2 separate regions of the Homo sapiens genome follow, and region 1 is linked to region 2. The links are contacts of gene promoters, found by promoter capture Hi-C in human tissues and cell types (Jung and others, 2019). All regions are on one chromosome and are shown on one strand. The core of a region is centred on a gene start or on the middle of the fragment in contact, and the rest is flanking DNA. Distances in the headings are between cores, read along the strand shown. Region 1 overlaps SEPHS1 (selenophosphate synthetase 1). Region 2 holds the start of MCM10 (minichromosome maintenance 10 replication initiation factor).

The links. The method cuts DNA at HindIII sites, captures the fragments that hold promoters and counts their contacts. A contact is called where the count stands out against the background at its distance.
Region 1: a contact is called between a fragment that was not itself captured here and the fragment with the promoter of MCM10 in region 2, in 1 of the 25 tissues and cell types used here (liver).

What each region holds. Positions count from the first base shown.
Region 1 is chr10:13,320,898-13,326,909 of GRCh38, forward strand. SEPHS1 (selenophosphate synthetase 1) reads right to left here. Exons shown (of 9, transcript NM_012247.5): 8 at 1,938-2,150. Among named protein-coding and RNA genes, the nearest start is that of PHYH, 24 kb to the left of the region's middle. The HindIII fragment of the contact is 3,843 bases long and covers 2,005-5,847 here.
Region 2 is chr10:13,158,997-13,165,813 of GRCh38, forward strand. MCM10 (minichromosome maintenance 10 replication initiation factor) reads left to right here and starts at 2,562. Exons shown (of 20, transcript NM_018518.5): 1 at 2,562-2,610; 2 at 5,132-5,213. The coding sequence starts at 5,207. It also overlaps the pseudogene RPL36AP36. RefSeq lists silencers at 2,311-2,624, 2,647-2,826. The HindIII fragment of the contact is 5,218 bases long and covers 1-3,495 here.

The DNA of each region.
Region 1 (6,012 bases), core at 2,676-5,175, 160 kb after region 2:
TTCAATTTCCATTCAGTGCCCAATTATGTGGCAGACACTGTCCTGGCCAGAGCCTGAACCAGCAGGGGAAAAAAACCCTGCCCTGTTGGAGCTTACTTCTAGAAAATGGTTTGTTTTTTTAAACGGGAGGCTGAAGCGTCCTCTATAAAGGCGGTGAGAGGCCTGGCAGAGTCCTGAAGCCCCCTCGCCACAGCACAGGTCGACGTGACCAGGGCTTTGTGGTCCCAGCACTGTGGTCCCTTGCCCCGGCCTACTACGGAATCTCCCAGGCAGCCTTCACAGATGCTGAGGCCCAGGCCCACCCGAGATGGATCCCACCGTTTTTGGGAGGCTGGGGCTAGGCATGTGTATTTTTCTTTTTTTTTTTGAGACAGAGTCTCACTCTGTCGCCCAGGCTGTAGTGCAGTGGGGCGATCTTGGCTCACTGCAACCTGTGCCTCCTGGGTTCAAGCGATTCTCCTGCCTCAGCCTCTGGAGTAGCTGGGATTACAGGGCACACGCCACGACGCCCCGCTAATTTTTGTATTTTTAGTAGAGACAGGGTTTCACCATGTTGGTCAGGCTGGTCTCGAACTCCTGACCTCGACCTCCCAAAGTGCTGGAATTACAGGCGTGAGCCACCAGGCCTGGCCGGCATGTGTATATTTAAAATCCTAAGGTGATTCCACTCTTTTGCGGGTAGAAAACTAGAGTTCTAGAGGAAAGGAAATAGAAAAAGAGAGAAACCGAAAAAAAGGGAAAAACAGGGAGACTTAAAAGATGAAAACAGTAAAGGTAAAGGGAACAAAGGGGGCAAAAGAGAAATGGTACTTCAGGAGGACGCGCCATCTGGCTCCAGCTGGGGCTGCGGGAGTGGGAATGAGCGATGGCGAGCCTGTAGGCTGTGGGTGGCGGCCTCGGCGGCCGGCAGGCCATGCTGGAGTACCTGCCATGATGAAGAGGAGGACGTCCCACAAGTTCCGGACAGATGTGGCCACCAAATTAATCAGGAAACAAAAGGAGCTTAATCTTAGAAAAATGATAAGGGATATAAAAGCTCCCTAGGAGTCAAACTACTGGGGCGTATGGTGTCAGACCTGCACTGCTGTCTGATGGCTCTCTCTACCTACGCTTGCTCCATCTCCCGTTTATCCTCCATTTATGTTTCCTCTAATAAATTACTGCACATCTAAGAAAAAAGAAAAATGGCATTTTAAAGACATAATATCCTATTGCATTCTTTTTTATTCTGTATCATTCTCTTTTCTTTTTTTTTTTTTTTTAAGGCAGAATCTCGCTCTGTCACCCAGGCTGGAGTGCAGTGGCGCAATCTCGGCTCACTGCAACCTCTGTCTCCCAGGTTCAAGTGATTCTCCTGGCTCAGCCTCCCAAGCAGCTGGGATTAAAGGCATGGACCACCACGCCCAGCTACTTTTTTTTTGTATTTTTAGTGAAGATGGGGTTTCACCATGTTGGCCAGGCTGGTCTTCAACTCCTGATCTCACGTGATGTGCCTGCCTCAGCCTCCTGAGGTGCCAGTATTACAGGCAAGAGCCACCACACCTGGCCCCTTTTCTCTCTATCATTCTTAAAACAACGTTAGACAATTTTCAAGGAAAAAAATATCACCTGTTCAAAGTAACCTAGGGGTATTACAGTTAATTTCAAATGCGAAGCTTTCAGTAAAAACTGAATGCTACCTTATTTCCCCCATCACCATATCCTTGCATCAAAAAGAGCACAGGCCACTCAACCTCAGCAAGGCTGCTGGATCCACCCAGGATGGCGGGGACCAGACCCACCGGGAGGAGGAAAGGCACCAGCTGCTGCGGAGGCCGAGGTCAGCAGCATGGAACTCGAACAGAGTGGGGGCCCACTCGGGGTGGGGCTGCTGCTTTCTCGCTGAGCTTTCTGTTAGCCTCACTATTTAGTCCTCAGATGCGCCCAGCATCCTGTACCTGAAGTCTCCGGGCAGGTCCCGTGCATGAGGCCGAACATGTTTCCGCAGGCCTTGCTCACCGCAGCCATCTTGGCCAGCACCGGGAGGTTGTGAATTACAAACGACACCTCGTTCCTCTGCTGCTTGGCCAGGTTCTGCGCATGGCCCAAAATCCCGAAGCCCGTGATGTCAGTGGCGGCGTGGGCATTGAACGTGTGCATGAGTCCTGCAGCTGGGAGAGAGAGGGGGCGGCTCTGAGAAAAAACACCTTTCCTCAACTCAAAAATCTTACGTCCACAATTAATCTGCAACTTCCTTACTTGTCAGGGAGATGACGTATCGGAATAATGAAAACGCAATGTAAAATCAACCAAAGACATAGTGAAATTCCAAAAGTTCTTATTTCACTTTGAGCCACCTGAAAACTATCAGAAGCTTCAATTAATAGTAGTTTTCCAGTAAACTAAAAAAACTATGCAGAGGGATTATGATCTCAGTGGAAGGTAAACCGGCCAAGACCATCCTAAAACCAAAGACCGGCACTTTTTTCCTTTTTTGAGATGGAGTCTCGCTCTGTCATCCAGGCTGGGGTGCAGTCGTACGATCTCGGCTCACTGCAACCTCTGCCTCCAGGGCTCAAGTGATTCTCCTGCCTCAGCCTCCTGAATAGCTGGGACTACAGGTGCGCACCACCACGCCCAGCTAATTTCTGTATTTTTAGCAGAGACAGGGTTTCACCATATTGGCCAGGCTGATCTTGAACTCCTGACCTCATGATCCGCCCGCCCTGGCCTCCCAAAGTGCTGGGATTACAGATGTGAGCCACCACACCCGGCCAAGACCAGCACTTTTTAAGAAGGCCTTGCTCAGTATCAAGGTACTCCCGCGAAAGGTGAATTGCGTGCAAGTTTATTTTTAAATTTCTTTCTTTTTTTTTTTTTTAAGAGACAGAGTCTTGCTCTATTGACCAGGCTGGAGTGCAGTGGCATGATCATAACTCACTGCACTTGGGCTCAGGCAATCGTCCTGCCTCAGCCTCCCAAAGCGCTGGGATCACAAGTGTGAGCCACTGCTCAATAATATTCCATACTACAGATACACTACATTTTGTTTATCCATTCATCCACTCACCTACTATTATTTAATTATCCATTCACCCGACCTATTATTTAATTTTAAAAAAATTTACAGACTTTATTTTTTGGAGCAGTTTTGCGTTTAGAAAGAAATTAAGTGGGAAGTAACAAATCCTCAGTGCTCTGCTCTACCTGATCCCCTTCCTCTCCGATAACCTCTGGCCACCACTGATCCTTTCTGCATCTCTACAGTTTTGCAGAATGTCATGCAGTTGGAATCCTTCTGTATGGAGCTTTTTCAGACTGGCTTCTTTCACTTAGTAATATGCACTTAAGATTCCTCCACATCTTTTCATGGCTTGATAGCTCATTTCTTTTTACTGCTCAATTATATTCCATCATACAGATACACTACATTTTGTTTATCCATTCATCCACTCACCTACTGAAGAAATGAATGGCTGCTTCCAAGTTCTGGCAATTATGAATAATGCTGCTATGAACATTTGTCTGCAGGCTTTTGTGTGAATGTAAGTTTTCAACTTTTTTGAGTGAATATCAAGGAGCACAATCGCTGCATCATATAATAACATATTTAGTTTCATAAGAAACTGCCAAACTGACTTTTAAAGTGGCTGTGCCAGTTTTCAGTCCTACCAGTAATAAATGAGAGTTCCTTCCTGTTTCTCTACATCCTTGCCAGCAGTTGGTATTATCAGTGTTTTTGGGTTTTTTTTGAGACAGGGTCTCGCTTTGTCACCCAGGCTGGAGTGAGGTGGTGCGATCACAGCTTACTGCAGCCTCGACCTCCTGGGCTCAAGGGATCCTCCCAACCTCAGCTTCCCAAGTAGCTGGGACTAAGGCGCAAGCCACCATGCCCAGCTAATTTTTTGTATTTTTTTGGTAGAGATGGGGTTTCACCATGTTGCCCAGGCTATTCTCAGTGTTTTGGATTTTAGCCATTCTAACAGGTATGTGGTGGCATCTCAATCACTGCTTTAATCTACAGTTCCCTATTGACGTACCACACTGAAGGTTTCCTTTTATGCTTATTTGCCATCTGCGTTATCTTCTTTCATGGTGTCTGTCAAGGTCTTTGGGCCATGTTTAAATTGAGTTGTTTTTTATTATTGAGTTTTAAGAGTCCTTTGTATATTTTGGATACCTGACCTTGAACAGGTATGTGTTTGGCAAAATTTTTCTCCCAGTCTGTGGCTTGTCTTTTCATTTCCTTAACAGTGTTTTTCACCGAGCAGAAGTTTTTTATATTAATAAAGCCAAACTTAGCAATTTTTTAATAGATAGTGCTTTTGGTGTTATAAAGTCATCACCAAACCCAAAGCCACCTCAATTTTCTCTGATGTTACCTTCTTCCAGTTTTATATTGTTGTGTTTTATTTAGGTCTACGAATCATCAATATGGTCTGGCTCTGTGTCCCCACCTAAATCTCATCTCGAATTGTAATCCCCACATGTCAAGAGAGGGACCTGGTGGGAGGTGACTGAATCATGAGGGCGGTTTCCCTCGTGCTGTTCTCGTCAGGGTGAATGAATTCTCATGAGATCTGATGGTTTTGTAAGTGGCAGTTTCCCCTGCTCTTCTCTGTCCTGCTGCCTCATGAAGAACCTAGGTGCCTGTTTCCCCTTCACCATCTGCCACGACTGTAAGTTTCCTGAGGTCTCCCCAGCCATGTGAAACTGTGAGTAAATTAAACCTCTTTCCTTTATAAATTACCCAGTCAGCTGGGCATGGTGGCTCACGCCTGCAATTCCAGCACTTTGGGAGGCCAAGGTCAGGAGTTCAAGACCAGCCTGACCAACATGGTGAAACCCCGTCTCTACTAAAAATACCAAAATTAGTGGGGTGTGGTGGCGTGCGCCCTGTAATCCCAGCTACTCCAGAGGCTGAGGCAGGAGAATCGCTTGAACCTGAGAGGCACAGGTTGCAGTGAGCCGAGATCACCCCACTGCACTCCAGCCTGGGCGACAGCGAGACTCCGTCTCAAAAAAAAAAAAAAAAAAAAAAAAAAAAAAAAAAAAAAGAGACTCAGTCTCAAAAAAAAAAAAAAAAAATAATAATAATAATAATAAATGAATAAATAAATTATCCAGTCTTGGCTATTTATAGCAGTGTGAAAACACACTAAACATTCATTTTGAGTTAATCTTCACGAAAGGTATAAGATCTGCATCCAGAATAATTTTCTTCATGTGAATGTCCACTTGTTCCAGCACCATTTGGTGAAAAGACTCTTTTCTCCAATGAATTGCCTTTACTCCTTTGTCAAAAATCAGTTGACTAGGCCAGGTGCAGTGGCTCACGCCTGTAATCCCAGTACTTTGGGAGGCCGAGACAGGCGGATCACAAGGTCAGGGGTTCAAGACTAGCCTGGCCAACATGGTGAAAACCCATCTCTACTAAAAATACAAAAATTAGCCAGGCGTGGTGGCGGGCGCCTATAATCCCAGCTACTTGGGAGGCTGTGGCAGAAGAATCACTTGAAGTCGGAAGGCGGAGGTTGCGGTGAGCCAAGATCCTGCCACTGCACTTCAGCCTGGGCGAAAGAGCAAAACTCCATCTCAAAAAAAAAAAAAAAATCAGTTGACTATAATATGGACCTACCTCTGGATTCTCTATTCTGTTCCTCTGATCTATAACTTTTTTTTTTTTTTTGAGACATGATCTCACCCTGTCACCCAGGCTGAAGCGTAGGGGTATGATCACCACTCACTGCAGTCTCAACATCCTGGGCTCAAGTAATCCTCCCACCTCAGCCTCTCGAGTAGCTTAGACTACAGGAATGCACCAGGCGCAGCTAAAGAGACGAGATGGGGTCTCACTATGTTGCCTAGGCTGGTCTCCAACTGCTGGACTCAAGTGATCCTCCTGCCTCAACCTCCCAAAGTGCTGGATTATAGGTGTGAGCCACTGTGCCTGGCTATAACTTTCTTACAAGTAACAACAAATTACAGAAAATTTTTATTTCCAAATGAATTGTAAAACAATAGGTAAAAGAT
Region 2 (6,817 bases), core at 1,312-3,811:
GGGTCTGTGATAAACATCCTCCTACCGCCCAAAAAAGGTTAAGGACCACTGCAATATGGGCTGTTTGCTTTAGATTTCATTTTAGATAGATGTTGATAACTGTCAGAGCTGTTCTTTTTTGGCCTTCGTTTGTATTCTAAGGAGAGTCCAGGCCTCTCCTTAGAACCCCAGATCTGGAGATCAAGCTGGCTACCGTGCCTTTCTTAATCAGCATCTCTCATACATCTCATTCTGAAATAGAAAACTAAATCTATCTTCTCCCCTAAACCTGTTCCGTTCTTCCTATGTCTCCTACTTCAGTGCACAACCTCAAAAACGACCCTATTGTATAAATCAGAAACCTAACAGTCATCCTAAACCTGTCTCCCCATCCCCTCTCTGCTTCCTTCTCGCTAATATCTCCACATTCAATGGATGTTTTAAAAATATAAACTCAAGATTTTATTGTCTTCATAATAAAAGAAAACATGACACTTAGAACTGGATCACTTGGCCGTTTCTCTTCTTACCTCCTCCCAGTTCAAAATGCTAGCATATTTTAATAGCCAGCACTCTCTTAGAGCTGCAGCTGGGCTCAACGCACTCAAGCCTTGGCACAATTTTCTGTAGTTTTAGCCCTTTCCTGGAAAATCGGCTTAATTTGCCCACGATAGCCACTCTGCTTCCTGTCATAACGCCGCTTTCCCTGGGCATACAGAGAATCCTTCTCCTTCGTGTACAGTGTCACTTTGTGGGGTTGGTGCTTGCCACACTTCTTATAGAAAGTCTGGCGGGTTTTAGGAAACTTCGTAATGTTTGTGTGAGCGCTATCGGCACGGAAAAGCCACATTCAATGGATTTTAAAAAATCTATTTGCCTAATTGTTTCTCAAAATCACCTCCACTTCTTTTCTCAAAGTCACCACTATACTAATTCCAATAAAAAGTGCTTGATTCTTCACTTAAGGAAGGTTTGCGGGCTTAGGTTGGTTCTGTTTCTGACTCCTTGCCCGGAACTGGATGCAAAGAGGACCTGGAAAGTGAAGGTGAAGAAAAGAACTTCAGAGTACTGATCAGAATTAGTCAAGGAATTTCTGCATAATGGCTAAGAATAAATCTATGACGAATCTTTTTTTTTTAATAACTAGATGTAGTGATGCATTTATTTATTTATTTATTTATTTATTTATTTATTTATTTAGACAGAGTCTGGCTCTGTCGCCAGGCTGGAGTGCAGTGGCGAGATCTCGGCTCATCACTGCAATCGCCACCTCCCAGGTTCAAGCGATTCTCCGCCTCAGCCTCCCAAGTAGCTGGGATTACAGACGCGCACCACTACGCCCAGCTAATTTTTGTGTTGTGTGTGTTTTTAGTAGAGATGGGGTTTCACCATGTTGGCCAGGCTGGTCTCGAACTCCTAACCTCGTGATCCACCCACCTCGGCCTCCCAAAGTGCTGGGATTACAGGGGTGAGCCACCGTGCCCGGCCTTAGTGCCGTATGTTTAAAAGTACGCATTTAAACATACTTTTTCAATTTGATTACTAGAGTTCCTCCATTACTATGAATTTTTAACACTAGCAGCTCTCAGAAATGGTTGTATTCCTATTCCTGAGCCAATATAGGTTTAAGTAATAGGGCTGAGCTCATAAATGGAGCAGTAATATTCCATTAGGACACAGAAAAAAGTCAACGTAGATGGCATCAGGACTGTTTATCTTCAGTCTTCCTAAAGTCGATTTTAATTGTTCTGAAAATGAAAGTACGTAGTGGATAGAGATAGGATCTTATACCAAAGGGATTATTAGTGGGGGAACTGCAGTGCCTGAACAGTGTCTGCAAGGAGGAAAAGGGGGGAAAGACTTAAAGTGGCCATTTGGTCCATCAAAGTCTCTTCTGCTATCAATCCCTTGAAATTATGTAAAAGCTAAATGTTATTCTGCATTTAGAAACTATGTTCTTAGTATTATGTACAAACACTATTTTTTAGAATGTAAATACATAAAGAGGCCTGAATTTTACTGAAAAAAAAATCTGTGAAAGATATGGTCTGCTGATAAGTTCTCTTCAGCCCTGACGCCCCTTAGAAGTCCCAAAATCTATGGAACAGGAATTACTCGGGAAATGGTGGTTTCAGTGTAAAAGATGTCATCTACCCTTTCCCTCACTGCACAGATGGTGAAGGGGAAACTCAGAGAGATAAGTCACTTCCCCAAGGTCAGACAGGGTAAAAGTGGACCGGATCTGTTTGGTCCTGAGCCCAAACATTTCGAATGGACATAAGGCTGACAAAGGAACAGTCGGTCCCAGAGCGTCAGGAGTTGAGGTGGGATGGGACCGCAGGGAAAATACTGGGTGGGATGACTTAAACTTCCCGGCACCAGGGGGCGCCAGACACTCTATTTTACCTAAAGGAGACTGGCTTCTACCGACAGGAAGGTCCCTTGCCCCCAACAAAGAGGGCGTCCAATGACGTAAACCAATCCGATTGCTCTGTGCCAGGGCCGGGATTCGCTGGCGTAGCCAGTCAGTGCTGCCCCACAGCCGCGTGCGTCTGACGTCAAGGCAGGGGCGGGATCCGGTTGGAATTTTGGCGGGTTCAGCTGTGAACGAAGAAGGCGTCCCGGCATCGGGTGAGGAGCGCGGGCCCCGGGCGTGCGTGTGACCCTCGGGCGGCGGGGCCGGGGCCGCCTCGCACGTCTCTGCGCGGGTTGCAAGGGGTCCGAGGCTAGAGGCGCGGGGTCCCGGGAGCTCGGGTGGGCGCGATCTGGATTTGGCGGCAGCTTGGGACCGCTCGGAGCTGGCATGGCCGGGCCGGGGGCTGGGAGTTGCTGGCCGTCTACTAAGGAATCGGGTTCTTCCTTTTAAACGCAGCCTTTTAAGTGCTTGCCAAGTGCCTGCCGCCTGGGCTTTCTTTTATTCATTCATTCATTCATTCATTCATTGGTTTCTCGTATTCATGATTTGCCAATGATTATTGAATGCGGACGGTGTGCATGGCTCGGATCACATTTCCGCTGCCTTCACAGCGCTTACAGTTTAAAGGCACGAGCAGGTAGTAAACAAATGCACGACAGTGGACGACTCAGGGTGGTCCAGAAAGTCTCAGAAAGATGAGTAAGTGGAGACCGAAGGGCGAGAAGGACCTGGGGGGAGCTTTCTTCGACAGAGCCTGAGACCTCAAAGCAGCTTAGTGTGTTCCAGAAGGTGGAAGCGGGCTGGCCCGGCTGGAGCATCGTTATGGGTGTCGGGGTGGGTAGAATTGGACGTGGTGGATTGTGGAAAATGTGAGGGAGTAGAAAGCTTGGAAAGAGAGAGAGAATATGAATCATTGCCTCGCAGGCTTTGTAGATTTTTTCTAAGGGCAATGGAAAATCATTAAAGAATTTCAATGAAGGGACCCCCATGATCTGATTTATGTTCCTAAAGGTTACTAAGGAAAGGGAAGATTACCGTGGCTGTCGTATGCAGAACAGATTGCACGGGGACAAAGAGACCAACATAGAAAGCTAACACAGTCATTGGGTTAAAGGTTGACGGTGGCTTGGCCTAGGGTTCTGGCAGTGAAGTTGGAGAGAAGTGGCAGATTTGAGCAGTGTTTTGGAGATGGGACCACAGTACTTGTCAGTGGCCGTGGATTTGAGGGCGAGGGAGGGTGCACAGTTTCATTTTGGGGGAAGGCAAGGCCGGTTACAGACTTGAACGAGACAGTTTGCTCCTAACGCTCAGGAAGCTTACTGTCCAATAGGTTCCCCAGTAGATAGCACAGTGTGTGGCACATGAGGGATCCGTGGAAATGTTGGTTGAATGAATTTTTAAAAAGCGGCCAGGCGCGGTGGCTCACGCCTGTAATCCCAGCGCTTTGGGAGGCCAAGGCGGACGGATCACCAGGTCAGGAGATCGAGACCATCCTGGCTAATACGGTGAAACCCCATCTCTACTAAAAATACAAAAAATTAGCCGGGCGTGGTGGCGGGCGCCTGTAGTCCCAGCTACTCGGGAGGCTGAGGCAGGAGAATGGCGTGAACCCGGGAGGCGGAGCTTGCAGTGAGCCAAGATCGCCCCATTGCACTCCAGCCTGGGTGACAGAGACTCCGTCTCAAAAAAAAAAAAAAGCACCTTTGGGAGTCCAAGGCTGATGGATCACTTGACATCAGGAGTTCAAGACCAGCCTGGGCAACATGGCGAAACCCTGTCTCTACAAAAAACACAAAAATTAGCCGGGTGTGGTAGTGCACGTTTGTAATCCCAGCTACTTGGGAGGCTGGGGCAGGAGAATCACTGGAGCCTGGGAGGCGGAGGTTGTAGTGAGCCAATAGCACCACTGCACTCCAGCCCCAGCGACAGAGCGAGATCCTGTCTAAAAAAAGAAAAGAAAGTACCATAATCACTGTAATTAGTTCCTTGACATTGAACTTGCCAAAGAGCACATGTAAGTTAAATAAGAGCCTAGAAAAATGTATACTTTCTTACTTGCAGTTTAAAAAATAACCTTAAATGAAAAGAGAAGTGCACAAAGTGATACAACTTTGTCTTAATTAGCTACGCTGTTTCTCTGTGCTTTGCTGACTAGTATTGAATCAAAATCCTGATTGTCACTAAGGCTCCACCTAAGTAGAATCATACAGTAAGCTGTCGTGGATAACGCAGATGTCAGGTGTATTACAGTGAATAAAATGAAAGAATAGCCTAATGTAGATCGACCCCAATAATTTGTGTGTGTGTGTGTGTAATTTTTAAAAAAGACAAGGTCTTGCTATGTGACCAGGCTGGTCTCAAACTTCTGGCCTCAAGTGATGCGCCCACCTTAGCTTCCCAAAGTGCTGGTATTACAGGCGTTGAGCCACTGTACCTAGCCAACCCCAATAGTTCTTCCTCATAATTTATCTCATCCACGTAATCTAGTGTGATTTACAAACTGCTCTGCAGCTCAATAACTTTCTGTAACCTTAAACACAAGTAAAAGTGAGCTGCTACATCCAAGGAAGGAGATGGCATTGGCGGTGTGGAGAGAGGAGGTGAGAAATGGTCAGATTCTGGATGAATTCTGAGGTTAGAGCCCATAGGAGTGGTAGGATTCTGGGTTTGTTGGATGTGTGTTGTGAGAGAAAGAGAAGAATTGAAAGTGACATTTCTAATATTGCTTTCACACAGCCAAGATTCTACATTGCTCATCTGGGCATCTGAGCCTCCTTCGAAGTTTCCTGTCACAACTGTCCTCTTGACAGCATGGATGGTAAGACCTGGCAGTTTTCTGTTACTCTGTTTCAAGGAAAACTAACCTTTTGTCCATGGACTTGTTATTTATTCTACCTGTAAAATGGTGAAAATGCTCCCCAGCCCTCAGGTATTGTCTTAGTGGTTCTGAAGCAATCTCACATCTCACAGAGGTCACTGAATGTTACTTGCTTTTATCAGGGGAGATTTCTTCTGGCAACAGAGATTGTCTTTCATAATTACAATAGCTGGTAGGTGTACAGTGGGCCAGGCACTGCTCCAAGATCCTTGTGGAAATTAACTGATTCAGTCCTCAGGCAAACGTATTTTATAGGCAGAAAAACAGGGATGTTTAGTAACTTGTCACAGTTCAAGCTGGCATAGCAGGGCTTTGAACCAGGCAGTCTGACTTCAGAGTTTACATTTGATAATGAAATCTGCTGAAGCGATATTAGTCTAGCTCTGACTTAAGTTTTTATTAATATCATCCTTTCTAATTTTGTTCATTTTGCAAGGATGTGTACAAAATGTTTACCTAGAAAAGAGATGTTGCACTAATTAGCGATCACCTAAAATGATTGTGCTGGGCTGGACGCAGTGGCTCACGCCTGTGATCTCAACACTTTGGGAGGCCGGGGTGGGAGGATTGCTTGAGCCCAAGAGTTCAAGACCAGCCTGGGCAATAGAGTGAGACCTCATTTCTATTTTTAAAAAATTAAAATGATTGTGCTGGTTGTGAAGAGATCTAGTTGCATAATTGAACTCATAATCTGAAACTGGGTTTTTTTAAAAAATTCAAACATATTACACTTTGCCCTTTAAAACAAAACTTGAAATTCCTCACACTGTGATGCACAGTGGACCCCCGTTGTCCCTGAGAGATGTGTTTCCACACTCCCAGCAGATGCCTGAAACCCAGGATGGTACCAAACCCTAGGCATGCTGTGTTTTTTCCTGTACATACATACGTGTGATAAAGTATAATTTATGAATTAGGCACAGTGAGAGATGAACAACAATAATAAAATGGAACAATTATGACAATATACTGTAATAAAAGTTATGTGAATGTGGTCTCTCTCTAAAGTATCTATTGCACTCTCAAAATATCCATTGTACTGTCCTCAACCACAGTGACCATGGAAAATCAAAACCACAGAAAATAAACCCTCAGATAAGGGGTTATTCCTTATGTGAAACTCATTGCCTGATGCTATCATGGTAGTTTCCTGTTTCTTAAAATTGGCAAATTGCCTACAGGGCAGGTTATATAATACAAAGCATCACTTTTTGCTATCAGATTGACATGAAAATAAGAGGTGAATGGATACCTGTTCTCTAAGAAATCATAGTATCTATCTGGAAACAGTATAGGTCAAGAAAGAAGAAATCATAATGTTTAGGCTGGGTGCGGTGGCTCATGCCTGTAATCCCAGCACTTTGGGAGGCCAAGGTGGGTGGATCACCTGAGGTCAGGAGTTCGAGGCCAGCCCGGCTAACATAGTGAAACCCCATTTCTACTAAAACTACAAAAATTAACCTGGTGTGGTGGCATGTGACTGTAATCCCAGCTACTCAGGAGGCTGAGGCTGGAGGATCACTTGAATCTGGGAGGCAGAGGTT